Linked DNA regions of Homo sapiens: region 1 is linked to region 2. The links are contacts of gene promoters, found by promoter capture Hi-C in blood cells and fetal thymus (Javierre and others, 2016). All regions are on one chromosome and are shown on one strand. The core of a region is centred on a gene start or on the middle of the fragment in contact, and the rest is flanking DNA. Distances in the headings are between cores, read along the strand shown. Region 1 overlaps MECP2 (methyl-CpG binding protein 2). Region 2 holds the start of PLXNB3 (plexin B3).

Region 1 (3,564 bases), core at 569-3,068, 290 kb after region 2:
AGGCGGGTGGAGCACCTGGCGTCAGCAGTTCGAGACCCGCCTGGTCAACATGCCAAAACCCCATCTCTACTAAAAATACAAAAAATTTGCCGGGTGTGGGGCAAATGCCTGTAAATCTCAGCTACTCGGGAGGTTGAGGCACGAGAATCACTTGAACCCAGGAGGTGGAGGTTGCAGTGAGCTGAGATTGCACTACTGCACTCCAGCCTGGGCGACAGAGCAAGACTCTCTCTCTCAAAACAAAAAACAAACAACAACAACAACAACAACAAAACACAGAGAATGTACTCTAAGACCATAGAAAAAATAATAAAGATAAAAGCAAAAGCAGAATTTAATGAACTAGAAAAGAGACACAGAGTAATACAGGGCAATAATGCCTACATGTCTGCTTCTTGTAAGACCAATGAACCTAATGAGCTTTTACCAAGACAAGGAAAAACGGGAGAAGGTACAAGTAAACAACAAACACTAGGAATGAAAAAGCAGACATAATTACAGATGTTGCAAATGTATAAACTATAACATGAACAACTTTATGCTAGTCAGACAAAATGGACAAATTCCTAGAAAAAAAAATTTAACAGCTTACAGTAGCCCAAGCAGGTGCAGGGAAAATAAAAATAGGTTTAGATGTGTCTGCGTGTACATAGAACACCTCAAAAGACACAGACAAGACCCTGGATGCAGCCGTTCCCTGAAGAGAGGCCTAGGCAGCTGGGAGACCAGGGCAGCAGGGACACTCAGACCTTGCATCACTCTGGAGTTTGCACTTCCTGAATTGTGAAGCATGCACATGTCTCACTTATGCAACAGTGAATCCAAACGTGCCTGTATACAAGGAAAGGCCTCACCTGGCTGCGCCGTGGAGGCTGGCCTGGCGTGTGGAGCAGGCAGAACATTAGCAAGCTACCGAGCAGGTGCAGGTATGAACATCAGCTGACGCTGGCTCTTTGCTTTCTTTTTAATCTTGACAAATTTGGTAGGTGAAAAGGCATCATTTTTGTTCTCGTTTGCATCTCTTTGATTACCAGCAGGCAGAACTCTTTTCCTATCTTCATTGGCCATCTGTATCTCTTCTTTTATGAATTTCCTGTTCATAGTCTTTGTTCATTAGTGGTGACTAGTGGTAAGTTAGCAATAAGAACTGTTTGCATTCAAGTCTAGACTGAGAAGGAAATTAAAAAATCTGCCCATGTATTCTCACAATAAATGACTACTGACTAGCCTGAGATAATTGTACCCACTGCCCAGTCACAGGCATTAAGCCTAGGATGATTCATTTCAGACTTGTCCCTGACCTTCCTCATACCCTTTCCAGAAGGGCCCCTTGAGCTGCTATGATACTCCTAAATCACTATCCCATTACCCAAATGATGGAGAGCCAATCAAAAGCTTAGACCAGGACGCTTTCCCAAATTATGTCCCAATACCTTCACAATGATCACTTTATATACAATCTCACTGAATGCTCAGCAACACACGAGAGCAATGTTTAACTGAGGGCAACACTGAGGCTCAAGGAGGGCAAGTGACTTGATTGCTGAGGTCACCTGCTAGGTGCAAGAGCTGAGAATTAATCCCAAGGCTACCTGGCTCAAAAAGCCTAAGCTCATCTACTATACTTGAGGCGAAATCATGAAAGTGTGTTTTTACCTTGCCCAGACCCTGCACACTGCATCAAGGTCCTGAGTTTCAAGCAACAGAAATCAACTCTGGTTAAATTCAATCACAAAGGAGTTCTTGGGCAGCAGATCTGGAAATGGAGAGAGAACTAGAGAACTAGGCTCAGAAAAGCAGCAGGAATAGAGGCTGCACCACTGCAAACACAGCCAAGGTTATACTGCAGGGACCTGCTGGTTGGGACACCCACCCTGGGCACTGTTGCATGTCATCACTGGACATTAGCCACCACTGCTGGTTTTGTGACTCAACTGCCACCACCATGACTAATCCCTCACTGTCCCTCAAGAGTCAAAGTCCCTGAAGGCAGAATGGGTTTGGCCAAACCTAGGCTTCATCGCCATCCCCTAGTTTCCAGAGAGCAAGGGGAGGGAATATATCCATTCCCCTGTGGCAGGCACTGCCAGTTGTCCCCCAACATCCATGTTCTCCATCTGCCTTACTAATGAGACCCTGCGCTCAGCTAAGGAGAGTTATTCCCCGCTTCCCAGCAGACCATGGGACTACGTTATGGCTAAGGAGACAGTGGCCGAGTGCACTCCTGTTCATCGTTCTCTTTCAAGCTTGCTCTTGTTCTACTGACTATGGGCGGAGCACACCTCCCACCCACTGACTCTGGGCTTGCTCACGTGTTGATGGGATGGGGGAAGAAGAGGCTTTAAGAGGCTTCTGTGACTCTGCTCACTCCTCTTGGACTCCTGACCTCCGCCTACGAAGAGACTTCCCCTGGCAGCTGCTTCTCCCTCCTGGGTCCTGGAACGACAGGCTTGAGAACAGATCTGAATCCCATCTTGCAGCTGACCCAGACCCATGTGTGAGAAATAATAATTGCTGTTATAGCTACTGAGCTGCTGGTGCTGTTTGTTCCCTAGGACAAGATGATGGGTGTGAAGATGGAAATGGAAATATTGAATGGGCCTAGAAGTTAAGATGTCAAGTGCCATTTTGCCTTTCCCCTATGACCTCTTTCTTCCTACCTGGAGGAGTGGATGCAATGACTAGAGCAGCAACCGTCATCTCACAACCAAGAGGCAATCTTGAGAAATGGAAGACACCCACTGAGGGGCCCTGGGTCCTGGATCCTTACAAAGCCACTGCAGTGGTCATGGACAGCATGAGAAGGAAGTACACCACAGGCCCCCAACCCCATCTTCAGGTTTTCTTAGGTAGAAACTAGGGTCCACCTGCCTCTTACTAAGATATACACAATGGGGAGACTTTTAACACAAAAAAAGGTATGAAGATGGTCAGAAGCCAAAAAAGCAACAAAATGTTCATGATATGCCGTATGTGGGGTTTACTCACTACACTGCTTTTCCACCGAGTTAGCATAATCACTATAACTCAACCCATTGAAAAAATGACAAAACAGATTCTGAGATTCTCTTCCTATTTCTGTTAGCTAAAAAAGCAGCCTTTGAATTGTTTATAAGTGAATTCAAGAGATAAAAATAAACCCAGATAATTCAGAATGTACTGAGTACAACACATATGCCTTCTATGTGATAAGCTCCCAGCATTATTTATTCAAAGAAAACTTGCCTTGTTGCAAAAATATAAAAAAACTTAAAAAAAAAAAACAAGTAATTACACAACACACCACCTCCTACAACACCAGATTCCTTTTCTTTCCTTTGTAACCTGACCAGAAGAAAAACAAAACATTGTTCAAATTGCTGAGACCCACAAAGTTCAATTAGAGCATAAAAAATGCTCTCCCAAAATATAGCTACTAGCAGGGAAATGAGCAGGCTAAGCCTCCTGGTGAACCTGGACATTGGGCACAAGTAACAGGCACATTTAGACACCAACGACCAGATTCCACATGACTGAATCCAGAAACCCTGCCCCTTCCCATTCCCTTGGAGATCCAGGGGGACG
Region 2 (3,678 bases), core at 1,004-3,503:
CCGCTGGGATGCCAGCATGGAGAGCTACGTCTTCAGCCCAGCAAACGTGAAGCCCACGTCCCACTGACCCAACGAGTCCCCTTCCAGCATTGAGAAGCCTGGCACACAGCAAGGAGACGACACCAGATCAGTTGACGCTGCCTTCCCATCCCTTGGTGAGGGGACCCGGCCATTGCAGGATAAATCCAGCACGACTCCCCTGACATAAGATGTTCCGGTTCCCCAAACCAGCCTAGATCCTTTCTGGTTACACCAGCTTCAGACCAGGGGCTGCCATAGCCACGCCTCTTATCTGCTCAGAAAGCGTAGAAGGTGCATATGCAGGCCATATACACACATATTTATGAAAATGGTGCTGCCTGTGGATGGATTTATTTTCTTTTTTCTTTCTTTCTTTTCTTTTTTTTTTAAAGACAGAGTCTTGCACTGTCACCCAGGCTAGAGTGCAATGGCACCATCACGGCTCACTGCAGGCACCAACTCCCAGGCTCAGGCGATCCTCCCACTTCAGCCTCCCAAGTAGCTGGGACTACAGGCTCGCACCACCATGCCTGGCTAATTTTTAAATTTTTTTATAGAGATGGGGGTCTCACTATGTTGCCCATGCTGGTCTAGAACTCCTGGGCCCAAGTGATCCTGCTGCCTTAGGCTCCCAAAGTGCTGGGATTACAGGCGGGAGCCACGACGCCCAGCCTGATTTATTTTCTTCTGTGGAAAGGAAGGAGAAACCCATTCCCCATGCCAGATTGCAGGCGTCTGTCTCATCCGGGGCCAGCAAGGACATGTGTGTGTGTGTTGGGGTAGGCATGGGGGGAAGGACAGGGAGAGGGAGAGAGGCCAGCTGGCTCCCCCAAGCCTCCCCTCCTGGAGCTTCTAAATCCCTCCCTGGCTCCTTCAAGGCTGCCTGGCCTTCCTGTTGGGGAGAGACCCCTCGCCGGCTGCTCACTCGCTTTTTGGTGGTCCTTCCCACGGGCCTGCCTGGTCTGCCTCCACATCCTCAGCGGCTGCAGGTGAGAAGCTGTGGATCTGGGGCCCAGTGGTCCAGAGCGTGGCCCGTGCCAGAATGCCCAGGTTCAAATCCCATCTCTGTGGAATGCACTCTGAAGAAACGACGTCAGGTCATGGCCCTGGGCAAGTTACCCACCTCTGTGCCCCATTTCTCTCCATGCAGGTTGGAAAGAATGACACAGCTGCTCAGGGAAGCACCCATACCCCGAGTCTGCTGGGCCTTTGAGCTCCAGGGCCAACACCTGGCCCTATACCCTGGCCGCCCCCAGGGCTCCAGCCACCTGAGCCAAGCTTCTCACCCCCAGGCCTCCCCAGCCCCATCACCATTTCCTCCTCCCTCATGGGCCCCTCAGTCTTACCGTCCTCCCACTTCCGCCAGCCCCTCTGTGGATGGCCCTGCCACAGGGGGAACAGTGCCCCAGCAGAAAAGCCCCAGGGTCGCCTGGATTCTCCTGCCTTCGCCTCCTGCCCTGGGTCCAACGCACAGTCTTCAGAATGCTGCCTCCCCAGAGCGCCTCTAGAACGCGCCCGCCTCTCTCCATGCCCATGACCACCACTGGACCAGGCCTCCCCACATTCTCTGCCCCAGTGCCACCAGCTTGCAGTTGCCCATGGCGAGACAAGTTCAAGTTCTCAAGCCTGGCCACAAAGACCCCACCTGATTTGCTGACCTCCGCCACACCCTGGGAGACGGCCCTTGACCAACCTTGTGTTCCAGTCGGTGGGAAACACTGGTTTTTCCTCAACGCCACGTGGGCATGTCACGTCCAGGCCTGGCCTGGGGTAGGCCTCAGCTCCATCTCCTGCCCAACGCCTGCCAAGGTTCATGGTTCAAGGTCATGTAGCCTGACGGTTAAGTGAAGGGGCCCTGTGATTGACTCAGCCTTGCCACATACTAGCTGTGTGACTTTATTCAAGTTTCCTAACCTCCTGTGCCTCAGTTTCCCAACCTGTGTTTGTTTCTGGATGGTGCCAGTGCCAAGCCCAAGCCTGGCATCCAGTAGGTGCTTCGTGCCAGGTTATGGAATGCCCACCCAATAGGAGGGCGCTGCCGTCTCTCACCTGCCAGGTGCCCACGGTCAGTACTCCATCATGCCCGCTGCGGCCAGCAGAGGGCAGCAACATCCTGCCCTGTGCCATTGGGCAAAGGGGCGGGCGGAGAGAGGCTGGGCTGCCTGGCCGGGCTTGTTGGGATGAGTCGGACTGGGCACGATTGCATTGTGGGGAGGGAGGCTGGGGCTCTGTGAGACGTGCTCCTGGCACCGCCAGCTGCTACTTGGCCCTCGCCGGTGGCCCACCAGGTAGGCAAGAGCTGGGGCAGGCTTGGGCTTGGGCTTGGGGTGCAGGGGCTACCAGCCTCAGGGCAAGGCATCAGGGTCTCAGGGCCAACTGGCTGGGGTCAGGCAAGAGCGCTCGGGTGTCGGCCCAGCCTGACGACGGCACTAGGTGTCTGGGAGCACGGTGTCCCCCAAGTGGTAGCCCTGGGGTTAGGAGGTGGGGAACCATGTTTCTTCCCCGAAATGGGAAAGCCAACGCCAGCCTCGGGCAGGGTACAGGGTAGAGAGGCTGCCCGCCTGGCTCCCCACCCCCACAGCCACCCAACTGGCCCAGCCAGGTGACAGCAGCCCACTGCCACCTTGCCCTGGAGCCTACTGCTGCCGTGCTGTGGGGGAGGCAGAGACCCCATCCCCAGTGCACCTGCTCCTGTGCCACTGGCCAGGGTGGCCTGTGAGGGTGACAGGGGGTCTAGCTGCTAGGTGCCCCTCCCTTCCCCATCCCCTGCATGGATGGCATCTAGGCCAGCAGGACGGTGCTTCAGAGGGTGGGGTGGACAGCCCCGGCCTGTGGACCCTCTGCCTCAGCCCATCTCAAGCAGCCTCCTCCCGTGGTCCTGCTCGCTGCCACCATGCTGTACCTGGCACCACTTCACCAGTCCCCAGGGGCAGGGCTGGGCTGGGGGTGTGGAGGAAGATCTTTTGGACAAAGGCAGGCATTGAGGGCCAGGACTGGCACTTCACCCAGGCCCCAAGGCTACCAGCCGGCATTTGCAGGGGCTCCAAGGTCCACCCCGTGCCCTTCACAGGGACCCGGGGAGCCAGGGAGGGGCATGCTTAGTGACACAGGGGTTGCAGGGCCAGAGGGGGAGGGCTGGCTGGAGGAAACCCCGGCCCTTTGTCCCCGGATCCCGGGGGTGGCTCCCTGAGGGTGGGAAGTGGCAAGGAGCCCCCTGTCCAGAACAGCCCAGTGGGGGTGACAGCACTAGCGAGTGGGGCCCTGGCCTGGCCTCTGGACAGAGGGAACATTGTTGTGGTGGAGGCAGGGCTGCCTTGGCCTGGCCACTATTGACAAAGCTGCCAGCTGTGAGGGAGCCCGGTCGCTAGGCCCTGGGCGCCACCCCCACCGCCGCCCCTCCTTCCCCAGGCCAGCTCGAATGGGGCTGAGCCTCGACTGTCTCCCTCCCACTCAGGACAATGCCCCCCCGCAGCCATCTCATGCCCATCGCCACTGCCCTGGGGCAGCTGAACTGAGCGTATGTGCCACGCCGCCCAGGAGACCCCTCTGCTGCACCACTTCATGGTAAGTGCCCAGGCCCGGTGTCCCCAGAAATGTTCCTGGGAGGGGCAGGGTAGGGCAGGATGGCTGTGGCCAGGCCCAGGACATACAGGCTGC

The links. Contacts are between HindIII fragments. The CHiCAGO score rates a contact against its expected background, and 5 or more counts as called.
Region 1: a fragment that was not itself captured here is called in contact with the fragment with the promoter of PLXNB3 in region 2 in 1 of 17 cell types (activated CD4 T cells); the score reaches 5.5 in activated CD4 T cells.

The regions. Positions count from the first base shown.
Region 1 is chrX:154,056,087-154,059,650 of GRCh38, forward strand. All of the region lies in intron 1 of MECP2 (methyl-CpG binding protein 2), which reads right to left. Among named protein-coding and RNA genes, the nearest start is that of MIR718, 38 kb to the left of the region's middle. The HindIII fragment of the contact is 851 bases long and covers 1,394-2,244 here.
Region 2 is chrX:153,761,996-153,765,673 of GRCh38, forward strand. It overlaps PLXNB3 (plexin B3), which reads left to right and starts at 2,254. Exons shown (of 36, transcript NM_005393.3): 1 at 2,254-2,309; 2 at 3,476-3,585. The coding sequence starts at 3,541. PLXNB3-AS1 (PLXNB3 antisense RNA 1) reads right to left here. Exons shown (of 3, transcript NR_199696.1): 2 at 1,715-1,854. The HindIII fragment of the contact is 7,823 bases long and covers 1,298-3,678 here.